4 separate regions of the Homo sapiens genome follow, and all the other regions are linked to region 4. Evidence: promoter capture Hi-C in human tissues and cell types (Jung and others, 2019). All regions are on one chromosome and are shown on one strand. Each heading gives the region's core, a stretch centred on a gene start or on the middle of the fragment in contact. The rest is flanking DNA. Distances are from core to core; before and after follow the strand shown. Region 1 overlaps ADAMTS14 (ADAM metallopeptidase with thrombospondin type 1 motif 14). Region 2 has its middle 11 kb from the start of PRF1. Region 3 holds the start of TBATA (thymus, brain and testes associated). Region 4 holds the start of ADAMTS14 (ADAM metallopeptidase with thrombospondin type 1 motif 14).

The links. Contacts are between HindIII fragments. The study calls those that stand out against the background at their distance.
Region 1: a fragment that was not itself captured here is called in contact with the fragment with the promoter of ADAMTS14 in region 4 in 5 of the 25 tissues and cell types used here (IMR-90 fibroblasts, heart left ventricle, liver and 2 more).
Region 2: a fragment that was not itself captured here is called in contact with the fragment with the promoter of ADAMTS14 in region 4 in 7 of the 25 tissues and cell types used here (IMR-90 fibroblasts, aorta, dorsolateral prefrontal cortex and 4 more).
Region 3: a contact is called between the fragment with the promoter of TBATA here and the fragment with the promoter of ADAMTS14 in region 4, in 6 of the 25 tissues and cell types used here (heart left ventricle, liver, mesenchymal stem cells and 3 more).

Annotation. Positions count from the first base shown.
Region 1 is chr10:70,762,012-70,765,467 of GRCh38, reverse strand. ADAMTS14 (ADAM metallopeptidase with thrombospondin type 1 motif 14) reads right to left here. Exons shown (of 22, transcript NM_080722.4): 22 at 3,027-3,456. Among named protein-coding and RNA genes, the nearest start is that of TBATA, 22 kb to the left of the region's middle. RefSeq lists an enhancer at 2,913-3,456. The HindIII fragment of the contact is 6,281 bases long and covers 1-3,456 here.
Region 2 is chr10:70,590,346-70,593,534 of GRCh38, reverse strand. No RefSeq gene overlaps it. Among named protein-coding and RNA genes, the nearest start is that of PRF1, 11 kb to the left of the region's middle. The HindIII fragment of the contact is 5,825 bases long and covers 1-3,189 here.
Region 3 is chr10:70,783,870-70,787,367 of GRCh38, reverse strand. It overlaps TBATA (thymus, brain and testes associated), which reads left to right and starts at 1,991. Exons shown (of 11, transcript NM_001318241.2): 1 at 1,991-2,083; 2 at 2,595-2,721. The HindIII fragment of the contact is 18,774 bases long and covers 1-3,498 here.
Region 4 is chr10:70,671,111-70,674,376 of GRCh38, reverse strand. ADAMTS14 (ADAM metallopeptidase with thrombospondin type 1 motif 14) reads right to left here and starts at 1,871. Exons shown (of 22, transcript NM_080722.4): 1 at 1,493-1,871. The coding sequence starts at 1,574. RefSeq lists a silencer at 2,990-3,266. The HindIII fragment of the contact is 21,684 bases long and covers 1-3,266 here.

The sequences.
Region 1 (3,456 bases), core at 917-3,416, 91 kb before region 4:
CCTCCTCAGCCTGGAATTCACTGTCCATATCACTATCAGCATTTTGTTCACAACATTCAACAAATCTCTAGGAAGTTCCAAACATTCTCACCTCTTCCAGTCTTCTTCTGATCCCTTCAATCTGTTCCAGCCTCTTCCTGTTACCTACTTCCAAAGTCGCTTCCACATTTTCAGTTATCTTTATAGCAATGCCTCATTTCTCTGGTACCAATTTTCTGTATTAGTCCATTCTCACATTGCTACAAAGAACTACCTGAGACTGGGTAATTCATAAATAAAAGAGGTTTAGTTGGCTCATGGTTCCACAGGCTGTACAGGAAGTTTATGGTACTGGGGGATTTGGTTAAATAAATGGTCATCTAGCCATACCGTGGGGTACTGTGCAGTCATTAAAAATGAAGACGTGGCTGGGCACGGTGGCTCATGCCTATAATCCCAGCACTTTGGGAGGCTGAGGCAGGCAGATCACCTGAGGTTGGGAGTTCAAGACCAGCCTAACCAACATGGAGAAACCCCATCTTTACTAAAAATCCAAAATTAGCCAGGAGTGGCGGTGCATGCCTGTAATCCCAGCTACTCGGGAGGCTGAGGCAGGAGAATCACTTGAACCTGGGAGGCAGAGGTTGCAGTGAGCCGAGATCGCACCATTGCACTCCAGCCTGGGCAACAAGAACGAAACTCTGTCAAAAAAAAAAAAATACGTAGTTCAACGTAGCTCAGGATGGAAACGTGTTCTTATTGTATTGCTGTAGGTGGAGTAGGAGGGGGAGAAGATCCCAGATGACGTGTATGTGTATAGTATTAATAATACTCACCCAGCGTGCATGTGTGTGTGTACAGACACAAACAATCTTGCACATGCACACATCTGGAATGGATAACTAAATTATTAACAGTGGTTATTGCTAAGTAGAATTATAGATTTTTTTTCCTCAGGTTGTAAAATTTTTCAATAATGAGCATATATTTCTTGCATAATTTTTTAAAGGAGAAGATTTGTGGTGTAGGCCCCAGAGATTTCTAATCTGTGGCAGCTGGGTCCCTGGGACTGCCCCAGCTACATTTCCACCCCTTCTTGCTCTTTCCCTCCTCCCCCCAGACCCCTACCTTCCCCCAAGCCTTCAGTCTCCTGAAGCCAGGTAGGGAGCAGGGGCTCTTTGGAAGAGCCCACAGAGTTCCAGGTCAGATGGCCCAGGCTCTGTGCCTTCCCCTCTTCCCCTGCCTGCTGTGTCATTTCAGGTGGAAGGCCTGGAGTTTCACCAGGAGGGTAAATCAAAAAAGGGCCCAGAGGCCAGTCTATTGCCCAGGAACATGATGAGGCTCCAATTGCCCCTTTTCTCCTCTGGAGGAATGGGAAGGTAAGTCTCCTGCTGTCCCTAAACCCTTGCCATCCCCCCGATCCCTTCTCCACCAGGAGCTTTCAGGCCTTACTAGCCCAAATGAAGTCACAGGCTGGAACCTCAAGGAGGCCATCTGGACACAGAAGACAGCCATGGTGAGGACTTCCCAGGCTCTTTGAACAGGAGGCTAAGGGTGACTCTGTGCAGCACTGTCCCTACTGACCCCAAGGGCAAGGAGATGCTGGAACTTCAGGGGGCTTCCTCCAAAATGACAGGTGTGCTGGCCCCTGGCTATGGGTTGAGGAAGCTTGGCAGACCAGGGCAAAGGCTCTGGAAGCCAGTCGGGGCTGATAGGCTAGACTCTGGGCACCTGGCTGTCACTGCGGCAGGGCTCTGCCAAGCATGGGGCAGGTGTGGATAAAGCCTTGAAGTCAGAGTGGCCTGGAGAATCCCCTCCAGGGAAGAGACAGGCAATCTGGCACCCTGGCACCTGCACCCACCAGACTCCAAACAGGAAACCGTTTAGGGCAGGAAGAGGTGAGACCATTCCCATATGGCCTTTCCCACTGGGCTCCTACAGGAAGTGAGGGATGTTTCTGAGGCTGCGATGGAAAGAGGGCCCTTGGTGCTGTTCCTCTATCTTCACCCGTGAATCCTTTCATTTTCTCAGTTTCCACCAAAACAAGCAAAAATCCTGACCCATAAAAAGCCCTCAATTTGGAGAGTGGACATTTCCAGATGTTTGGGGAGATGGCAACAGAAATTTAATTGAACCTTAGACATATTAGACAACCTGCATCCTAAAAAGCCCCCAGCCAAAGACAGATGGAGAGGCTGCCCTCTCTGTGTTCCCACCCCCACGGGGGTAGGAGTCTCCAAACCATTTTCTCCTCGGCCTTAAGGGGAGGAGTGAGCTCTGCACAATGACAAGAAGCCCTTTTGCCAGCTTCACCTTTTCTAAGTGCCCAGCAGTGTAGATTCTTTTACTCCATGACACAAATTCTGCCACTGCTTAGAAGGCAAAAGTGGTTGCAGTCATTTTGCTTTCAGTGACAGTCTCTTTGTTCTGTGGTTGCTAAGATTCCTTTAGAGAGCCCCTCTTGTTGTTCTTTTTTGTTTTTGAGACAGGGTCATGCTCTGTCACCCAGGCTGGAGTGCCATGGCGCAATCACAGCTCAGTGTGGCCTCAAACTCCTGGGCTCAAGGGATCCTCTCACTTCCACCTCCTAAATAGCTGAGACCACAGGCGTGCAACACCACGCCTGGCTAATGTTCTTTTTATTTTTTGTTGAGACGGGATCTTGCTATGTTGCTCAGGCTGGTCTGGAACTCCCACCTCCAAAAGTGCTGGGATTACAGGCATGAGCCACTCTGCCCCACTGGCCTCTAGTTGCATTTAAACAGGTTGAGAATTTCACAATAACCTGAAATAAAGTGTTGTCCTGGAACTTGGGCCTCAGGGAAACAGGAGATTCAGTAGCCAAGAAACCAGTGGCAACCCTGTGTCCCACCTGGCAGTGACGCAGCAGGGCATGGGTGGAAAGGTGGAGGGACAGGAGACAGCCACAGTGAGCTGCGCCCCCACCCCCAGTTCTCTTGCTACAGCCCAGCCCTCAACCTTCGAGCTCTGGCTTCATTGTCCCCTTCCCATAAATCAGAGAGAGAAAAAGAAACACACACACAACCTTTTGGGGTCCAATGGCGATGTTAATAAATACATAAAATTTTAAAGATCTGGATTTCCAAGGCACAAGAGTTTAACACAGGCCAGGCTGGTTCTCACAGGAATGACTCCGCGTGTGCCCCAGCATCCCAGGGAGGGGAGGGCAACAGGGGGAGGGCGGGGAGCCCCCCAGGACCTCCACTCTCCAAAGGGGTTGCAGGCCAGGGGCCCACTACTCATGTTCCTCCAGGCTGGCTCAGAACAGCCCCTTTGCCTTGGGGAAGGAAGAAGTGAGAAGCACCTCTATCACCTGGCAGGAGTTTAGGAGACATCCTCCAAGACCCCGGAGGTGTCCTGGGACCCCCTGCCACTTCCTGAGAGCCAGAGGATCTAAGACTGTTACCTGTCCCTTGGAGGTAGCATGGCCGGCAGCTGAGCACAGCTCAGGCCCTT
Region 2 (3,189 bases), core at 248-2,747, 80 kb after region 4:
AGCGGCACAATCATAGCTCAGTGCAGCCTTGACTCCTGGGCTAAAGTGATCCTCCCACCTCAGCCTCCTGAGTAGCTGGCATGCACCACCATGCCTGACTAATTTTTTAATGTTTTGCAGAGTCAGGATCTCTCCACGTTGCCCCGGCTGGTCTCAAACTCCTGGCCTCAAGCGATCCTCCCACCTTGGCCTCCCAAAGTGCTGGGATCACAGGCGTGAGCCAGCCCCAGCTTTTGTTTTTTAAGCAGTTGCCACAGCACCATCATCTCCCTCCATATACACCTTCGTGGTCCTGACAAGCTGGCAGTGAGCCTGGCGTCCCTGATGTGTTTGGACGGAGGAGATGCCTGCTGGAGGGGGAGGTGGTGTAGGGGTGAGGGAGCGAGGGAGTTCCTTGTGGTGAGGGGGCTGCTGCAGCCTTGGGAGACTGTGGTTCCTCTTGCTCACCAGCATCTCCATTCCTCCACGCCGCTCCACATCCTGACATCTGTCGCTTCCTCATAACCACAGCCTCTCTTGGTCGCCAGTATCTCTTGCTTGGCCCACTCCGCCTTTGGCCTTCTCACTGATCTCAGGGCTCGTGCATGCCCCTCACTCACCCTGCAGCCACGGTGATGCCAGCACCCTGCGCAGATCCCCTCAGACCCCACCACAACCACCAGCCCCTGCACCTCTGTCTAAGGCCTGTGCTGGGGCCCACTCTGCCTGCCCCATCAGGAGGCCAGAATTATTTGAGAATAGTGTCCATGTCCCACTCAGTCCAGAAAAACCCACAACCAGTGGCTGAGGAAAGTTGGTATACAAATACCCCAGCTCACTCCCTGTCCAGGGAATAACTGCAGGACATATGCCACACTGGCTCCCAGAGTTCTACAGCAGGTGGAAGCTCCATTTGCACACAGAGGTGACTTGCTTGACCACATACACCTTCTTGGCTGCCTCCCTTTCCTGTCTCACTACCACACCCCCTCACTGGTATTTTCTGGAGTCACCCCCCAGTGGAAACCATACACCCTTGGATCCCTGCCTCAGGGTCTGCCTCTGAGGAAACCAGCTAAGACACACATCTGACTGTGTCATTGACTGGCTCACACTCTATTGACTCCTTGCAGCTAAGTCCTTCTCAACCTTCAGCCTTTAGCTTCAAAGATCACTTACTCCAGGAAGCCTTCCCTGACTGCCAGGTCTAGGTCATGCCGCCCTCTACCCTGCTTCTGTAGTCCCCAGCGTTTCCCCATCATAGCACTGTGAAGCCACAAGCCATTTCTATCTTATTCATGGTTGAATCAACTAGTCCAGCACCTGGCATAAATTTGATAAGTGAAAAATATTGGATGGATGAGTAGATGGAAGATGAATGAGTGGATGAATGAACCCCACCAAGGAATTTTCCAGCCTCTGCTTGAACTCCCCCAGAGACAGACAGCTCATTACCTCCTAAGGTAACTGTCCCACATTTAGAAGGTTCTAACCATGAGCTCTCATGTTACACAGAGACGTACCTCCTACATAGGAGCCTACACAGTAGGCTACCTACCACAGAAGCCTAGCATCCACTCCTGGTTGTGGCTCAAGGATTCTATATATTTAAAGCTTTGGTTTTAGCCAACCGTGTTAGTCCTAGCTATTTGGGAGGCTAAGGCAGGAGGATCACTTGAGCCCAGGAGGTCAAGACTGCAGTGAGCTATGGTCATGCCACTGCACTCCAGCCTGGCAACAGAGTGAGACCCAGTCTCTAAAAATACATACATACATACATACATACATACATACATACATACATACATACATAAATCACTGGCCCTGTCTTCAATGTGGTTAGGCAGAAGGACCACTGGGCTGATTCCAGTCCATGCAGCAGCTTCCCCTCACTCTCCTTCCGTGAAGGAGCCATGGAAGGGCCAGACACTGCCCAGGAGAAGGTGGAGGTGGAGCTGGGCCAGCCGCCTCTCTTCTCTGTAGCTGACAACAGAAGTGAGACCCCCTTCTGGGAGGGATGGATGCTCTTGGTTGTTTGCTCTTGATTCTTTGTTCCTCAATAGACCTCATCACCAACTGGGGTCAGTTGCAGCTAGGGCAGCTGTTTCTCTGGGCAAAGCTGATGCCCACTTGGCCTGGGCAGGTTCTGGCCACAGAGGGGCAAGGTCTACCACCTTAGCCTGCTCACAGGATCTCCTCCCTTCCCCTCCCCTCCACTGGCTGATGAGGTCCTTTCCAGCCTCGACTTCCACAGCTCAGCTGACCACAGCACTCCTGGGGCAGGGGCAGGCTGAGCATCTGCCAGGTTTTCACCGTTGAGGACAGGAGGATGTGACTGGTGCAGTTGAGACCAAGGTCACAGGTGAGATTCTCAGGGGGAGGTTAGAGTTAGTGATGCACAGAGATAGTCTCAGTCACAGACAGGATCCTGGAGAGGAGCCAAGGACTGACATCCAACCTAAGCCACATTGAAAAGACCCAGCCACACACTGGAGACCCAGTCACAGAAACCAGTCCAATCATATGAATTTCGACTTTGGTCCAAGACAGATTCCCAACCTCAATCAGTTCTCTTGTACATTGCAAGCACATAAAACTCCCCCTCCAGACTTGAGTCCCCAGCTGCAAATGAGGGGGCTGGAACCGTGATTTATTTGCAGCTTTCAGCATGGAGAGTCTCAGCCCTGATCCCACAAGCTGTTCAGTCTCTGACACTCAGTGGCATGGCCTGGTGTGTCAGAGGTGTTTGAACCAGAGCGACTCCATCTTGAATAGGGCCTGGGTAAAATGAGGCTGAGACCTACTGGGCTGCTTTCCTAGGAGGTTAGGCATTCTAAGTCACAGGATGAGATAGGAGGTCAGCACAAGAAACAGGTCACAAAGACCCTGCTGACAGGACAGGTTGTGGTAAAGAAGCTAGCCAAACCCATCAAAACCAAGATGGTAATGAAAGTGACCTCTGGTCTTCCTCACTGCTCATTATATGCTAATTATAATGCATTATCATGCTAAAAGACACTCCCACCAGCGCCATGACAGTTTACAAATGTCATGGCAATGTCAGGAAGTTACCCTATATGGTCTAAAAGGGGGAAGAACCCTCAGATCCAGGAATTGCCTGCACCTTTCCCAGAAAACTCATGAATAATCCACCCGTATTCAGCATTTAATCAAGAAATAACCACAAAAATAGCCAACAAGCAGCCCTTG
Region 3 (3,498 bases), core at 742-3,241, 110 kb before region 4:
TCCATCTATAGGATTACATGAGGTAATATATCTAAGAGGTTGGCACAGTGCCTGGCACATAGAAAGTGTTCCATGAAGTTTCTATTGCCTCTGTTATGACTGAGTCATCCAGGCCAAGGACTGTACCTCAAATCACTCTCAGGCTGACAGATCTCTCTACAGTTTTTGACACTCCACAAAGGAGTCAGAAGAGTTTCCTCAGTTCTTCTTTTACAAACCAGTGTTGAAGACATTTCCTGAGGAACCCCTTCATCCCCCCAGCTGCAGTCCCTATGCAGACCCCCATGCTCGATTGTAAATAACATAGTTGAAGCATTACAAGGCACCAGTGGGGAGGATGAGAGTGGGTTTTCATCTCAGCTGAGTCAGCTCGCGTGGTGGGAAATGCCACAAGAGTGCTGAAAGCAGGAGGGAGGAGTGGCTTGTCACGGGGAAGAAAGCCTCTCTTCTCCCAAATGCTATATCATCTATCTTCACAGCTGCCAGGATGCCCAGAAGTATGGAAGAGGGGGTTTTCAGTATGATTTCAAAAGAGTCACCGTATTCCTGCAGAGACAGGCCCAGAAAAAGCCAGGGAACATCCTGACCTGCCGAAGGATGGGTGGGCATTTGGAGTAGGCCAAGACCAGAGGACAGCCCTCAGGGGGCCACCAGAGTGGTATGAATCCCCACCCCTTAGCTGGGAGGGGCAGAACTTTTGAAGGACTTGGGTTTGCCTCTAGCTACCCACCTTCCTTTTCTTGCTCCCCAGAGAAAAGACACAGAGTCTGGAAGCCCCAGGGCACCAGTATGAAGCCAGGGGTGCTGAGAGCAAAGGCCCTGGGAAAAGCCCACCTCATCATTCTGAGGGACAGCACCCGGCACTGTCTGCAAGCCTTCCCATAGTTTACAGAGCCTGTCTGCACCCCTCCCGGGATCTGATTGAGTTACAGCCCTGTCGGCTAAGAACTATCCTTACCCCCATTTGACAGGTGTCCAAGTTGAGCCTCAGAGAAATAGTGAACTACCTAAGATAGTTCTCAGACAAAGGACTCATCCTACTACCTCCATCAAGTTACCAATAATAATGATGATTATTATCCTTTTTGAGCATCTCTTGTGTGCCAGACATACAACTAAAGGCTTCACTTCCATTAGCTTGTCTTCAGAACAACCACAGAAGTAGGTGAGGATATCCCATTTTATAGACCCAGAGAAGGCAATAATAGTAAGAAATTATACTTGGGGGCAGATACTGTTTGAAACGCTTTAATATATATCAACTCACTTAATATTCTCAAACATCCTGTGAGAATAAGTGCAGTATCATCATCTCCATTTTAGAGATATGGGAACTAAGGCTCAGAGAAGGCAGGTGCATTGTCTGAGGCCACACAACTAGGAAGTAGCAGAATAGGGACTCGAAGCAAGGATTCTTCCCACTATTTTGCATCTGTGGCAGTCCCGGTGACTTACCCAAGGTAACGTGTCTATGGGATGTTGAAATCTGATTAAAACACCTGTCCAAATGCAAGCCCAGAATCTTCCCACCCAGCTGTCATGCAGAGAGAGGGGCTGGGGTCCCTCTGGGTAATGCGGGCTGCCATCTTCTCTCCTTCCAAGACCCACCTCCCTGAGAATGGGTCCCCAGAACCAAGATGCATGGAAGCCGACCCCTGTGTGGTGGGGTCAGGCCAGGTGGGGCTGACGAAGCTGGGACGCAGCCCACCAACGTCCTCTGCCAGCGTTCCGCCTCCATCCGCTTCTCTCTGGCTAAAACCAGCCCCAGACTCTCCTTCTCTCCCTTGGCCCCCATTGAAAGTGTTGGATGGGAGGCAGCAGGGAAGTCAGGAGGGACAGAAGGTCCTTAGCCCTTGTCTACCCTTCCAGGAGGGGGAGATAGGCAGGGGATGTGGTAGAGGGGTGCTGGGCAGAGGTTCTGGAGTTGTGGGAACAGGGTAACCTAGCAACCACTGGGCTCAGTGTCACAAAGCAGGCAGACTTGCCCACAGAACCCACAGCCTTCCCCTCGATTTGTCCTCTTGCTCCTTCCTGCTAGGACAGCAGGGCTTCTCGTACACATGCTGTAGCGGGCACTGCCTTGGTGAGTCCAGGGACCTCTCGGGAGAGGAGATGGACCCTGGACAGCCCAGAAGGGCAGAGGTAGAAAGGGAAGTTTTGTGGCTGGATTGATGGGAGCCCTCAGACCCCTCTGCCTGGCTGGCTGGGGCCCCAGGGACAGAGAGCAGGGGCAGGGCAGGGCAGACTACACTGGGGTCCCACCTGTCCCGCTCTGGACAAGGCAGGCTTGGCCTACTAGAGTCCCTGTCAGCCTCTCTACAGCCGCTGTGGGTTATGACCCCCTGGTGGCTTATTAGATCAATTTAAATGGATCATATCTAACATTTAAGAAATAAAAACCAAAAATAGGGTAAAAATATCAGTGTGCATCATATGTAGTACGGATAAATATTGCTTCAGGATATTATTGTTTTAGTTTCACACACACACACAAACCCATATGTGAATTGGATCATGACATAAAGAATTTCTTACCGTCATCACAGCCAAACACATTTGCAAGTCTCTGTTCTAAAGAGTACTTTTTCCCATAGGCAGGAGGATTTGGGGCTTCCACATATCCTGTTCTCAAGATTGTAGCATCTCAGTACTCTAGAGCCCAGTACCTGACATCAAGGATGTCTGGAGCTTCCTTTTAAGGAAAGAAAAGATCAGCAAACTGTGAGTCAGACTGCCCGGGCTCTGGTTCCTTCTGTGTGACCTCAGCAAATCTCCCCTGCTTCCCTGATCTCAGACAACTCCAACCCATCCCACTACCTGATGAAGGCTGGCATTGGGAGATCTCTGGGGTCCCTTGCAGATTCTGTGACTCTGAGGGTTAATTCTCAGAATGCACTGATGTCCTGTCCCAACCCCATCCCTAGCACTTTGGCTAGATATATATATTCAGGTCCATAGATTTAATCATAATTCTTGGTTTTGACACCTATCATCTTTCATCTATGCCATTTAATTAGTTTATTTAATAATATAATAAACACAAGCAAATACACCACCCAAACCAAGAACAAGAACATCATCACTAACACATCTCCTTATATGCGCTTCTCCTGCACACTTCCCCTCCCCGCCTTCCCTCGGAAATAGCCACTATGTGAATTTCGTGCTTAGCATTTCCTTGTTTGATGCTGTTGTTGCTGTTTTATCGCATGTTCATGATCATTTTGCTTGCTTTTAAACTTTTATTTTTAGAAAGGATCTCAGGCTATGTGGTCCTCTGGAACTTGTGGTCCTCTGGAACACACATAAACTAAACCATTTATGAAAGAAAAATAATATGTTTTTAAACAACATTTATACTGTTTAGTAGTTATTTTATATTATCCACACATTATATATAGTGGATGACAACAATTGTATTGTTTCAAATGCATATATCTTGTTCTACTGCAGCCTATTTAATAGTAATTAATAAAAAGTAAATTGAGTTAATAAGAT
Region 4 (3,266 bases), core at 622-3,121:
GGATGAAGGGTGTTCGGGTACCTTGTGGCACTCCCTGTAGCCCCCAGGTCCTTTTTAAACTTAGCAGAAGAAAGCAAATGATACCAGACAGAGCCCGGTCACTAGCAACAAGACTTCCGACCTTGGGCTCTGCCCAGAAAAGGACTAAAATTCCCCAAAAGCCAACAGGGCAAATAAAGGGAAGGGCAGATCTGCCCAAACTCCCCAGTGTGCTGAAGTCACCAGCCCAGGCTGGGGTAGTGCCCTCCTCCCCAAACTTCCAAGAACGCAGCTGGCAAAACAAACACACCTAGAAACCCAGGGGACCATGGGCACGTGTCAAGGAGAAGGTGGGGCTGCAGAGGGGAGCGGTTCTCTATTTTTCCAAGGTTAGAAAGAAAACTTTTTACAGGAGGACAGTGGCCGCTGAGATCTCTGTATGGCCGAGCCCCAAGCTGGATAAATATAGATCTTCAAAAATAAAAGGATATACAGGGGGTGACCTGCCCACTTGGGCTGAATTAACTGTGAGGTCATGGCCCCATGCTCCAGGCCACATGCCAGCAGGCCCATCCTCACGCAGCTCTCCTTGAGCCCAGCCAGGCTGGGCAGGAATGACAGCTCCCTGGCTTCCAGGCCTGGTGATTCATGAATGCGAGTTTGGGAGGAATTTTCATTTCCACACAGCTCTACCTCTCGTCTCCCCAGTTCACGTCACTGATGAAACATAGAAAGTGGTGTTTCCTGAAAATCCCCCATGCCCACAGCTCTAGTTTCATCCCCATTATAGCAGAGGACCCCTAAGACTGCTGCAAGAGGGGACCCACTCTGGCACATGAACAAGGCTCACAAACAAGGAGGGACCCTGCCTGGAAATGACCGGTGACTCCTCCCCATGTTCAGAGCCACCAGGAGGGTACCCCATGCTGCAGGGCGGGAGTGGAGTGTATCTGGTCTGTATGCAAGAGACCTGTGTCCACAGCGTTTGACAGTGCTACGTTGGGGGCAGTGGAAGGATGTGTGTTTCTGTGCAGGAGCGTGAGTGCCCCGCATGCTCTGCTGTAGGAGGCAATCACCTGTTAGCCTTATGCTGGGTATGTAACAGCCACACACAGACACACACACACACACACCCCTTGCACCCATGCTCACACAAGTTGGAGACAGAAAAGACATTGAAAGAGAAAGACACACAGGACAGAGAAACAGATTGGGGAAGAGGGGAAAGAAGAAACACAGAGAGACAAAGAGACAGATGCGCTGCTCCCGAGAAGAGACTCGATGCTCCCAAATTCTCTCCTGGGGTCTCTGTCTACTTCTAGTACCAGAAAGGGAGAGAAATCACGGGACAGTGCCGTGGCACAGTGGAAGAAAAGACAGCAAATCAGCCCAGAGTGTGCATACTGCCTCCCACCCGCGGGAACCCTGCCCGGGTGGCTGGGGCAACCTTGGGCCACCCTGACCGCGTGCACCCCGGACCCCACGGGCCCCCGCGCGCCCAACCCGCACGCACCTGGGGTCCGGCTGCCCGCGGCGGCGCAGAGCGCACAGTGCAAAGGCAGCAGGTAGGACAGCAGCGCGCGGAGTGGAGCCATGTGGCCGCGCTGGGACGCGGGCTGGGCAAGCGCCCGATCCCCAAGTCCCAGGCTGAGGGCGGCGAGGCTAGGGTGCGCCCCGGGCTGTCGGAGCACCGGCTGGCTGCCGCCGCTGCCGCCTCAGCCGCCTCCCCGCCTAGCTGCTTCCCTCCCGCCTGCTCCGGGTCCCCTGCGCGGCGCCGCCGCCTGGACCGCTGGCTCCGGGCGCGCGAGGCTGCCGGCTGGAGAGCGGGGCCACTGACGCGCCAGCGCACCCGGTGCCAACTGCCGGCTGGTCGGTCAGCCCGCCCGCGCAGTGACGCTCCGGGACTCCGCGGGAGCCGGGCGACGGGGCGGCGGGACGGGCCGGGGGTGGGCACACTGGGCGGGGCGGGGCCGGGCGCGGGTCGGAGCTGGGGCGCCGGGCGCCCGGGGGCGGGGCGCGCGGCTGGGGAGTGCAGCTGCCTGCGGCCGGGGATCGGAAGTGCCACGCGGAGACAGAGCAGGGGTTCCTGGCGCACGGACCGATTGTCCCCTCAGACGCCTGGGATCCCCGGAGTGGTGGCCCAAAGCCGCTTTCTATGGCTGCTCCGCCCCCTTTCTTGGCCGCAGGGCCTGCTCTCTGTTTCTGTTCCAGAGCCAGGAGCCCAAGGGGTGTCCGGCTGCATTTGGGAGTGTGGTGGACAGTGAACCTCCCGGTAGAGGGAGACTCCCTCTTTCTTTCACTATGGTCTTGATGCCCTCACTAACCATCGACCCCTTGGATCTACCCATTTTCCAGACTCCAGCCCAGGGTGCACGACTGACCTGTGTCCTAGCCAAGAGCAGGGCTGAGCCGGTGAGGAGAGAGCCCTGGCTTCAGAGTCAGACAGCCCTGATTGAAATCCTAGCTCTGAGCCTCAGTTGTCTTATCTGTGAAATGGGTGTTAACTACAGCACATAATAGATGCTCAATAAGTGATAACTGCCCTCCACTTCCATCCCTGACACCAGTAGCAACTGTGGCATCCCAAGGTGGAAAGAACCAAGAGTCTGAGAGATGAGCACTTGATGCTAGTCTTGCAATGGTGTTGAGACCAGGTCAGGAGTCAGTACAAACAACCCAACAGAAGATCCATGCTCTTGCTTTACTCTGTAAATATGTAACTAATAACTTGCAAATAAACTATATTTCAAGCAATCCAGGGGTGGGAGTTGTGGAAAGGAGATTTTTTTGTAATAACCATGGAATAAAGAATCTTGGAAATGATGCCAAGGTTTTGGAGGACCAGTGCATTTAAGAAGCAGGTTCAGAAAGCTAAAGTATATTATATTCCAAGCATTCCAAGCTACATCAGAGCATCCAGTTATTTGGAAATGCCACAACCAAATTGATCTATATTAAATTCAGGAAGAATAGAGTTCCTCTTTCTCCTCTTTCTGGTCTTTTAAGATGTGTGTTGGCTGCGTGCAGTGGCTCACGCCTATAGTCCCAACACTTTGGGAGGCTGAGGCGGAAGGGTTGCTTTAGCCTGAGAGGCTGAAGCTGCAGTGAGCTGAGCTTCAGCTCACACCACTGTACCCAGCCTGGGTGACAGAGCAATACCCTGTCTCAAAAAAAAAAAAAAATGATGTGCAAAGTCAAGGTCCAGACAGGATTCTGTGTGTGAGGGATGACAGAGCAAGAAAGTTAGAGGGTGTGTGTGTGTGTGTGTGTGTGTGTGTGTGTGTGTG